3 separate regions of the Homo sapiens genome follow, and regions 1 and 2 are each linked to region 3. Evidence: promoter capture Hi-C in 16 types of primary human blood cells and fetal thymus (Javierre and others, 2016). All regions are on one chromosome and are shown on one strand. Each heading gives the region's core, a stretch centred on a gene start or on the middle of the fragment in contact. The rest is flanking DNA. Distances are from core to core; before and after follow the strand shown.

What was found. Contacts are between HindIII fragments. The CHiCAGO score rates a contact against its expected background, and 5 or more counts as called.
Region 1: a contact is called between a fragment that was not itself captured here and the fragment with the promoter of TRA2A in region 3, in 1 of 17 cell types (monocytes). The highest score is 5.8, in monocytes.
Region 2: a contact is called between a fragment that was not itself captured here and the fragment with the promoter of TRA2A in region 3, in 2 of 17 cell types (monocytes and neutrophils). The highest score is 6.6, in monocytes.

The regions. Positions count from the first base shown.
Region 1 is chr7:23,209,682-23,212,590 of GRCh38, forward strand. No RefSeq gene overlaps it. Among named protein-coding and RNA genes, the nearest start is that of NUP42, 29 kb to the left of the region's middle. The HindIII fragment of the contact is 7,777 bases long and covers 1-2,909 here.
Region 2 is chr7:23,248,323-23,251,352 of GRCh38, forward strand. All of the region lies in intron 1 of GPNMB (glycoprotein nmb), which reads left to right. Among named protein-coding and RNA genes, the nearest start is that of GPNMB, 3.1 kb to the left of the region's middle. RefSeq lists an enhancer at 1-24. The HindIII fragment of the contact is 5,429 bases long and covers 1-3,030 here.
Region 3 is chr7:23,530,185-23,533,234 of GRCh38, forward strand. It overlaps TRA2A (transformer 2 alpha homolog), which reads right to left and starts at 1,797. Exons shown (of 8, transcript NM_013293.5): 1 at 1,605-1,797. The coding sequence starts at 1,640. RefSeq lists enhancers at 855-1,425, 1,426-1,995, 1,537-1,586, 1,607-1,656, 1,667-1,886 and 3 more. The HindIII fragment of the contact is 3,554 bases long and covers 1-2,962 here.

The DNA.
Region 1 (2,909 bases), core at 18-2,517, 320 kb before region 3:
TTCAATAGAACTTTCTAGAAAATATATCTTTGCACAATGCAGGAATGTTTCGTAAGTGAAAATGTTGAGTTGGAAAGTATGAACAATTTTAATTGTAATATATTTGTTAAATTGCTCCCTGCCCCCATCCTCTCCACAGTGTACATTCTGAAAACAGAAAAAGCCTCTCACATTTCAAAGGGGAGCAAGTAATGAGTTTGCTGTAATTGAATACATACAGCAATAAGAGCCATGGGGATGGGGGGTTTGATCAGCAATGTTTTCATAAGTCCCTTGCAGGGAGCCCCCTGGACCAGCATTGCATGGACATTGCTTTGGGTCTTCTGGGCTTTTTTTTCCCCCATCAAAACCAGAGAAAATGTCCAGGCACATGGCCCATACCTGTAATCCCAGCACTTTGGGAGGCCAAGGCAGGTGGATCAAATGAGGTCAGGAGTTCGAGACCAGCCTGGCCAACATGGCGAAACCCCATCTCCACTAAAAATACAAAAATTAGGCAGGCATGGTGGTGGGCTCCTGCAATCTCAGCTACTTGGGAGGCTGAGGCAGGAGAATTGCTTGAACCCAGGAGGCAGAGGTTGCAGTGAGCCGAGATTGCACCACTGCACTCCAGCCTGGGTAACAGAGCGAGACTCCATCTAACAAACAAACAACAACAACAACAACAAAGATTTGGAGGGAAAGGACTTTCAGCTGCTCTGAAGATGCATCAGGCATTGATCGGCTCTGCAGACTAGTTTTTACAATATCTAATGGTACCGAATGTATGAGCCTGTCATTCACCCCAGAGATGAATCTCGACAAAACAAAAGGAAAAAAAATTTTTACTTCTAGAAAGTAACACCTTACACAGCTCACTGGTCCCCAGAGAAGTGGACAGAGGTGACTCTAATACAACTCCAGCTTTCTAACTAGCCAAGCAGCTTCTAAAAAGCCAAACCTGAGACCAAAATGGGTATAAGCTGCAACAGGGAGAGGAAAACTCAAATAGGGGAAGAGAGAACCATCCCCACATGATTTCGCCACCTCCTGGCCTTGCATATTTCTTTAGCCAAGATTGCACGGCCCATGGCTATAATCATTCTTTTGAAAATGTGTTAACTTCAACTCCTCTGTCTCCTCTTCCTCCAAGCACTTGGCTGGCCAACCTGTGCTCCTGGGAGGCTGTCTCCTCTGCCCAGCCCACCTGTGGGGTGGAGGGCTGCAGAGGAAAGTGCCCTGTGAGGTTGCTGCCTGCCACCTCAGTGACCCTGGGCTGCAGTCCACGTGGCACCTCCAGTGGGCTCAGCACCTGTTCCCACAGCAGCAAGTCCATACCTTCACCACTGTCTTCTCATCTGTCCTCTCTCTGAGGAATAGCCCACCTCCTGCTTCACAGAGAAAACAGAAGGCATCACAGAGGACACTGGTCACTGTCACCTGCACTCCAAGGCCAGCCCTCCACACATGCTGGGTGGCACTCACAATCAACACCCTCTTCTCCTGCATTCCCTGGTCTCCCTCTTCACCCAGTCATGGAAGGACACATGACCCAAGCTGGGCCAGAAAGCATCCTCTCTGGGACTTCCTCTATTGTCCCCAGCATTCATTGGTCCCAGCTACTTGGGAGGCTGAGGCAGGAGAATGGCGTGAACCCGAGAGGCAGAGCTTGCAGTGAGCCAAGATCGCGCCACTGCACTCCAGCCTGGGCGACAGAGCGAGACTTCGTCTCAAAATAAATAGAGAGAGAGAGAGAGAGAGAGGGAGGGAGGGAGGGAAAAAGAAAGAAAGAAAGAAAGAAAGAAAAGAAAAGAAAAAGAGAGAGGATAGCTCTCTCTCTTCATAGCCTCTTCTCCCTTCCCATTTGAAATCCCCCTCCCAAGAGGTCATCGCTGTGAAGTCTGGTGGGCATTCATCCCTTTTCCTCGCAGCACGCTCAGACTGCACGGGCAGTCTGCAGTTAACTGTCCATCACCAGTACCCACTCTGCGGGCTCCCAGGTGAGACGCCGGAACTACATTTCCCAGAGTCCCTATCATCCCATGGTTCCGGATTCAAGTTGGCCTGCAAAAGGTTCCTGCTCAATATCTGCAAGAAGGAAGGAGAGATGCCATTCTCCTCTGGAGGCTGCTCCCTCTAGGCATGTGGGAGACATGAGGTTCCAGCGGCCCGCCACAACCTTGTGTGAGGTGGAGCACGGACCCTCCCTTTTTTTAGAGGCCTGTGGACCGTAAGCATGGAAATAAATCTTAAGTTCCTTCAGGGGAAATTCCAGGCGCCTAGCTAGCCCTGAGAAGTAAATAAATAACTTGTTAAACAAGAAGGTGATAGTAGCCTAAAACAACAGCTAAAGAAGTTGGAGTCCCAGAGATGTTTGCTTTCCCTATAGAAATTAAAGATAGTATCTTCACGTATGTCCCTGAGTTGTCTTTCAGAGGCTTGGACCCCCTAACTGAGGACCCCCCAAACTGATCAGGGGCATGGCAGGTAGACCCCAGATAAGGGGGAAATGAAGACTAAACTTTATTGTCCTTTGTTCTAAGTTTTTTCCTGAAGGGCTTGGAGAAAGTCACTCCCCCTAACCAGTTAACTCTACTGGCTTTACATTTTTAAACAAAGTTTCTCTTCCTTAGCCAATTGCAAACCAGAAGATGTTTAAATCTACCTATGACATGTAAGCCCCTAGCTTCAATATATCTCACCCTTTTCGGCCAAAATCAATGTGGAGCCTCCATGTATTGATTTATGATTTGCCTGTAGCTTCTGTTTTCCTGACATTTACCCCTGCCCTTAAAAACCTTACCTGCAAGCCATCAAGGAGTTAGAGACTTAAGCATAAGCTGACGATTTCCCTTGCTTGGCACCCTGCAGTAAATGCCTTCTTTTCTATCACTGCAAAAACCTCAGTGTGAGTATCTGGTTTTACTGCA
Region 2 (3,030 bases), core at 310-2,809, 280 kb before region 3:
GCTATTATTCCACCCTCTTTCACCAGTCCACTTCGCTCTGCTCAATAAAACAGATTAGCAGGAGGCCGAATCAGCGCTGTCAGCTCGAGAGGAGTCCTCAGCCTCTTGGGCAGTGTAACAAAACCCAGCCATTCACCAGGTTCACCTTGCTCTGGACTAAATATTCTGCCCAGAAAAAAATAAGGGCAGGCAGAATGTAGCAGTGTATCAAGCACTAAAGATTTCCTACCATTTTCCATTCGTAGCCCTGAAGGAAGGAGAAAGTGTGGACAAGGTAGGTGGAGGCAGCCCAGCCACCACCTCTCTGCTGGTGGACACAGCAAGGATGCCAAAGTGTGGAGGCAGAGTCGGCTGCAGCACTGGGTGCGACCTCAAATTTACCTTCACATTGATTGCCCCCAAAACCCACCCCCACAGGCTTTTATTTTTCTTTTAAAATCTGCTTACTATTGGGTTTTTTTTTTTTTAATCAATTTTTTTAGAGACAGGGTCTTACTCTCACCCAGGCTGGAGTGCAGTGGTGTGATCACAGCTCACTGCAGCCTCCAACTCCTGGGCTAAAGGTGATCTTCCACCTCAGCCTCCTGAGTAGCTGGGACCACAGGCACGTGCCACCACACCCAGATAATTTTTGTATTTTTTGTAGAAATGGGATCTTACTACATTGCCCAGGCTGGCCTCAAACTTCTGGGCTCAGTCCTCCCTTGGCCTCCCAGAATGCTAGGACTACAGGCATGAGCCACCTTATCCGGATGGGTTTATTTTATTTTTTAAATTTTTGTAGAGACAGGGTTTTGCCATGTTGCCCAGGCTGGTCTGGAACTCCTGGGCTCAGGCAATCGCCCACCCTCAGCCTTCCAAAGTGTTGGGATTACAGGCATGAGCCATTGCATCCGGCCTTTATTTTTAAATTCAACTTTTTATTGTGAGGTATTTATAGATTCACATACTGTTGTAAGAAATAATACAGAGAGATCCCCATGCACCCTTTACCTGGTTTGCCCCAGTGGTATCATCATGCAAAACAGGACATCACAGCCCAGATATTGACATTGATACAGTGAAAACACAGCAGAGCTCCATCACCAAAGTATTCTCATGGCTATAGATGTATAGCCAAATCTACTTCCCTCTTTCCAAACCTCACCCAGTCCCTGGCAACCACTAATCTGGTTTCCATTTTTATCATTTTGTAATTTCCAAAATTCTATACAAATGGAATTATCCAGTATGTAACCTTTTGAGATTTGCTTTTTTTAAAACCCAACATAATTTCCTGGAACTTTATTGATTTATTGAAGTAACTGCATCAATAGTTTGTTCCTCTTTGTCACAGAGTAGTATTCCATGGTATGGATGTACCACAGTTTGCTTAACCATTCACCCATTAAAGGACATCTGGGTTATTTCAATTTGGGCTATTATGAATAAAGCTGCTATAAATATTCATGTGCAGATCTCTGTGAGAATATCAGTTTTGTTTCTCTGGGATGCATGCCAAAGGGTACAATTTCTTGGTTGTATGATAGTTGCATGTTTAGTTTTGCAAGAAACTAACAGAGTGGCTGTACCATTTTACATTTCCACTAGTAATGTGTGAGCAATCCAGTTTCTCTACATCCTTGCAAGCATTTGATGTTGTCACTGCTTTTTAGTTAGGTCTTACTGATAGGGATATAGTGATATTTCACTACTGGCTAATGATGTTGAATATCTTCTTGTGTGTTTATTTGCCATGAGATGAATGAAATGGTGAAATATCATTTCATTAATTTTTACCAATTTTTCTAATTGAATCCCGTGGTTTTCTTATAGTGAGTTTTGAAAATTCTTTATATATTCTAAATACTAGTCCTTTATTGGAAGTGTAGTTTACAAATAATTTCTCCCAGTCTGTAGCTTGCCTTTTCATCCTCTTTCATGTCATGTTTCAGAGAGCAAAGGTTTTTTATTTTAATGAGTTCCAATTTCCTGTTACGGGTTGTGTTCATGTCAAGTCTAAGAATTCTTGCCTAGTCCTAGATCCTGAAGATTTCACCTATGCTTTTTGCTTTTTTACAGCACCATATGTTGAAAAGGCTATCTTCCCTCCATTGGCTTGTTTTTGCATCTTTGTCCAAAATCAAGCCAGGCACTGTAGTGCTTGCCCGTGGTCCTAGCTAATCGGAAGGCTGGGGCAGGTAGATCACTTGAGCCCAGGAGTTTGAGTCCAGCCTGAGCAACATAGTGGGACCCCCATCTCTTCAAAAAAAAAAAAATTAGTAGAGCATGCTTGTGTGGGTCTATTTCTGGATTCTCTCTTCTATTCCATTGACCTATGTGCCTATCCCTTGTAACTCTCCTTTTAAGTTTATACTTTTCCTGGGCTTCTGACATTTAAAATCGGAAGAGAAATCTGCGTTTTGATTATGTTCCTGGAAACAATAACTTTCTTTCAAGATCTGAGGAAGAGGAAGACTCTCTGGAACAGTGGAAAGAACTTGTCCTTGTCCTGGGAATCAAAAGATGTGAATCTTGATTTCTACTAAAGATGACCCTAGGTGAATCATATCATTTCCCTAGGCCTGAATTTCTTCATATATAAAATGAAGGGATTTGAACTAAATAATCTTAGTTCTTTTCATATGACTCAAGTGAATTTCCAATTACAAATACTTATTGATAAACACAAATGTCCTCCCCTCACTTAATGTCTATTTCCAAATAGGAGCAATCTCATAGAATCACAGGACATTTGGCTTTTGTCAGATGTGAAGGCCCAGAGAAGACACATGGCCTGAGGTCACACATCCTGTTTAATAACAGAACCAAGGCTAGAAAACATGTTCCATGACTCCGACTTTGCTGCTCTTTCCCATTCTCTCTGCCTCCTGGAGAAGAAGGGAACGTGTTGCTCCCTTCTCCTACCAGAGAAGAGGAATAGAAGGAATAGGTCAGAGACATGCATCCAATATGGCTTCTCTGAGCACCCACTCAATACCACACCTCATGGAGGATCTCTCCCAGGATTTAAGAGAAGAACAAGACAGA
Region 3 (3,050 bases), core at 547-3,046:
ATGTTTATCGCATGATTTTAGAAAGTTCTGTTGGGGCCATCAATACACCATCCTAAAAAATAAGCAGGTTCAATTTTCATTTGTTTCCATGCTCCAAACTTTGTAAAAAAAAATTCCAATCAAAAGAATTAAAGGCAAATTTTTTAGTCTACCGGGTAACTATTATAGTCTATTGCTTTAAATCTTTCCTCAAAGAGAACTAAAGCCTAAACTGACCTTCTGATTTGACTTTTTGGTTCTAGATGTTTATATCATGAACTCCCCAAAAGGACAAAATTCGCCCTTCAGCACACACACCTCAGGTGTTTTTATGTGCTTCCCCTAGTGACTAGAATAAACATCTACACAACAGCCCGGAACGTGTTGCATGGGGCTTTTGTTTTCTTTCCAGGGTTTCACACGAACTCACTTCTACTAACTCACTTCTACAATTCCCTATGTAGGGTAAACTTTGGAAATGAAACTCACTGACAAACGTTCCAGTACATTTAAGCTGGGGATATCGTATTCTTTGTGATGTTTGTATTTCTCCGACCCCAAATATATTAATAAAAACTTTTTTCTGAGCCCTCTTCGGTGGGGGATAGAGTGAGAAGAGAAATGGGAGAGGGCCTGTTAATTTTCAGGTCATCTTTTAAGTTACAGAACAGTATATACTGACTAGTTATCTTAAAAATACTGAGCCAATGAATTCGTTCAGCTATGTAAGATTAAAGAAAGACAGATTTTTTTTTTTTTACCGTAAAAACCTGTAAAGGAGTGGTCAGTTTTTAGATGAAAGGTCATAGGAAGAAGAGCATTAAAAGTTGAGATATAAAGAAGAGAAAAAACCCAACATCGAGGAATTAGAAAAATAAGGCGTGACAGCATTTCCACATTCATTTCGAAGTGAAAGGAAAGTCGAAGGGACATTAAGGGAAAAGGGCTCCTTGCGTAGTTTCCCCTCACAGCTCTCGTCTTAAGAACGCTTAAGGGTCGGTGCGGTCGTTGACTAACCACTTCATTAGGCTCGTCCCACCTTCAACCTCAAGGCTTTCGCCTTTTTAGACGCAACGCCGCCGGTTCCAACAGAGACGCGGCCGCTCACTGAAATAGAGAGCCAAGGAGACACAGGCCCCAGCTAGTCCCACGCCAGCTTCTCCCCGCCCGGAAAGCAGCCCCGCGCACTTTCGATCCCGAGACCCTCTACGATGCTCGGGGTCGCCAGAAATGCCACCGCAGGAAGCACCTACCACTATCCGGACGGAGGGGAGCTCCCTGCCGCCTCCTCCCGCCCAACCGCGACGGGGACCCACACCTCGGAGCAGACATAAGGAAGCCTCAGGGGTGGGGAGAAGGGAGGAAGCAATGCGGGGGCGGGGAGGGAAGAGGACCCAGAAGTCCAGGTATCAGTCAGCCTCCAAAAAAGGGGGAGGGGTGTTATCCGTGGTGTTTGGGGAAGGAGTGGAACCCAGAAGCCATCTTGGGATGGGAGGAATCAATCGCGATGGCTCCAGAGGTTGCTCCTCGCGGGACTACCCGCAACCCCGCCCGACCGCGCTTGTTCCCGTGAAACCCCGAGCATTGGGCCGCCGCCTAGACGGCTCCCGCGGCTTTGTACTCACTCTGCCCTCGAAGTTGTTTTCCTCCACATCACTCATGTCGACGAGGCGCTCCCCAGAACTAAATAAGAGACAAGTCTCGGCTCGAGGGCCGATGGCCTAATTAACCCGCTGACTGGACCGTGGGGAAGAGGAAAGAGTCGGCAACCACAGCCGCTCCACTCCACTCCCACTCGGTCGCAGGCTCCAGCAAAATGGCGCCGGCGCCGCCAGAAATCTCCTGGCCTCCTCAGAGCACGACGTAAAGGGGGCGGGCGTCTCTGTGACGTCACGAGGCTCCACCTCCCGCGAGGCTTTGTGTCGGCTGGGCCTGGAGCGAGGGTGGAGGTTGGCGGGCGGCCTGCGCTCTCAACCTGGGCGCCTTGGAATCGCGGTCCCGTGCTGTCCTCCAAACTTCAGACTCACCTCGGACGCGTCAACCTCTTTGAAGACTTTTCAGTCGCCAGATGAGCCTTATATGACCTTAGCCCCTTTAAATATTGTCCAAGTGGATTCTGATGTAAGGGAACAAAACATTGGAAGCGTTTTTTTATGTTTGTTTATTTTTTGAGTCAGGGTCTCGCTCTGTCACCCAAGCTGAAGTGCAGTGAAGCGATCACTGCTCACCACAGCCTCAAACTCCCGGGCTCAGACGATCCTCCCACCTCAGGCTCCCGCGCGCGCCACCACGCCCGGCTAATTTTTTTCTTTTTTGGGACGGAGTCTCACTCTGTTGCCCAGGCTGAAGTGCAGTGGCGCTATCTAGGTTCATTGCAACCTCCACCTCGCAGGTTCAAGCAATTCTCCTGCCTCAGCCTCCCCAGTAGCTGGGATTACAGGCATGCACCACCACGCCCGGCTAATTTTTGTATTTTTAGCAGAGACGGGGGTTTCACCATGTTGGACAGGCTGGTCTCAAACTCCTGACCTCAGGTGATTTGCCCGCCTGGGCCTCTCAAAGTGCTGAGATTGCAAGGGTGAACCACCGTACCCGGCCCACCCGGCTAATTTTTGTGTGTTTTGCAGAGATGGGGTTTTGACATGCTGCCCAGGCTGGTCTCGAATTTGTGGACTCAAGCGATCTGCTCGCCTCGGCCTCCCAAAGTGCTGAGATTACAGGCCTGAGCCACCGCGCCCGGCTGGAATCGTGTATATATAACAGGCTTTTGGGGGGCACGTTGTCAGCTGACTGTATTACTTTTCTTCCATATTTGCCCTGTGTAATGTCGACGTAGTACATGCACAGATGAGGTTATGATGCAAAGCCGCTGCTCCTTGCCTCGTGTCCCTGCTCCAGTTCCCCCTCCTAGAGACAGCCGTGTAGTTTTTTTTTTATAATGCTTAGCTCCCTACTAGTTTTTTTGACTTAGATATTTCCATAAAGCTTCACAGTGAAGACCTCCCAAATCTGTCAACTTGGTTCCCAATCATAGTAATAATCTCTGAGATGAGTTTTACTTGTGTAATGCA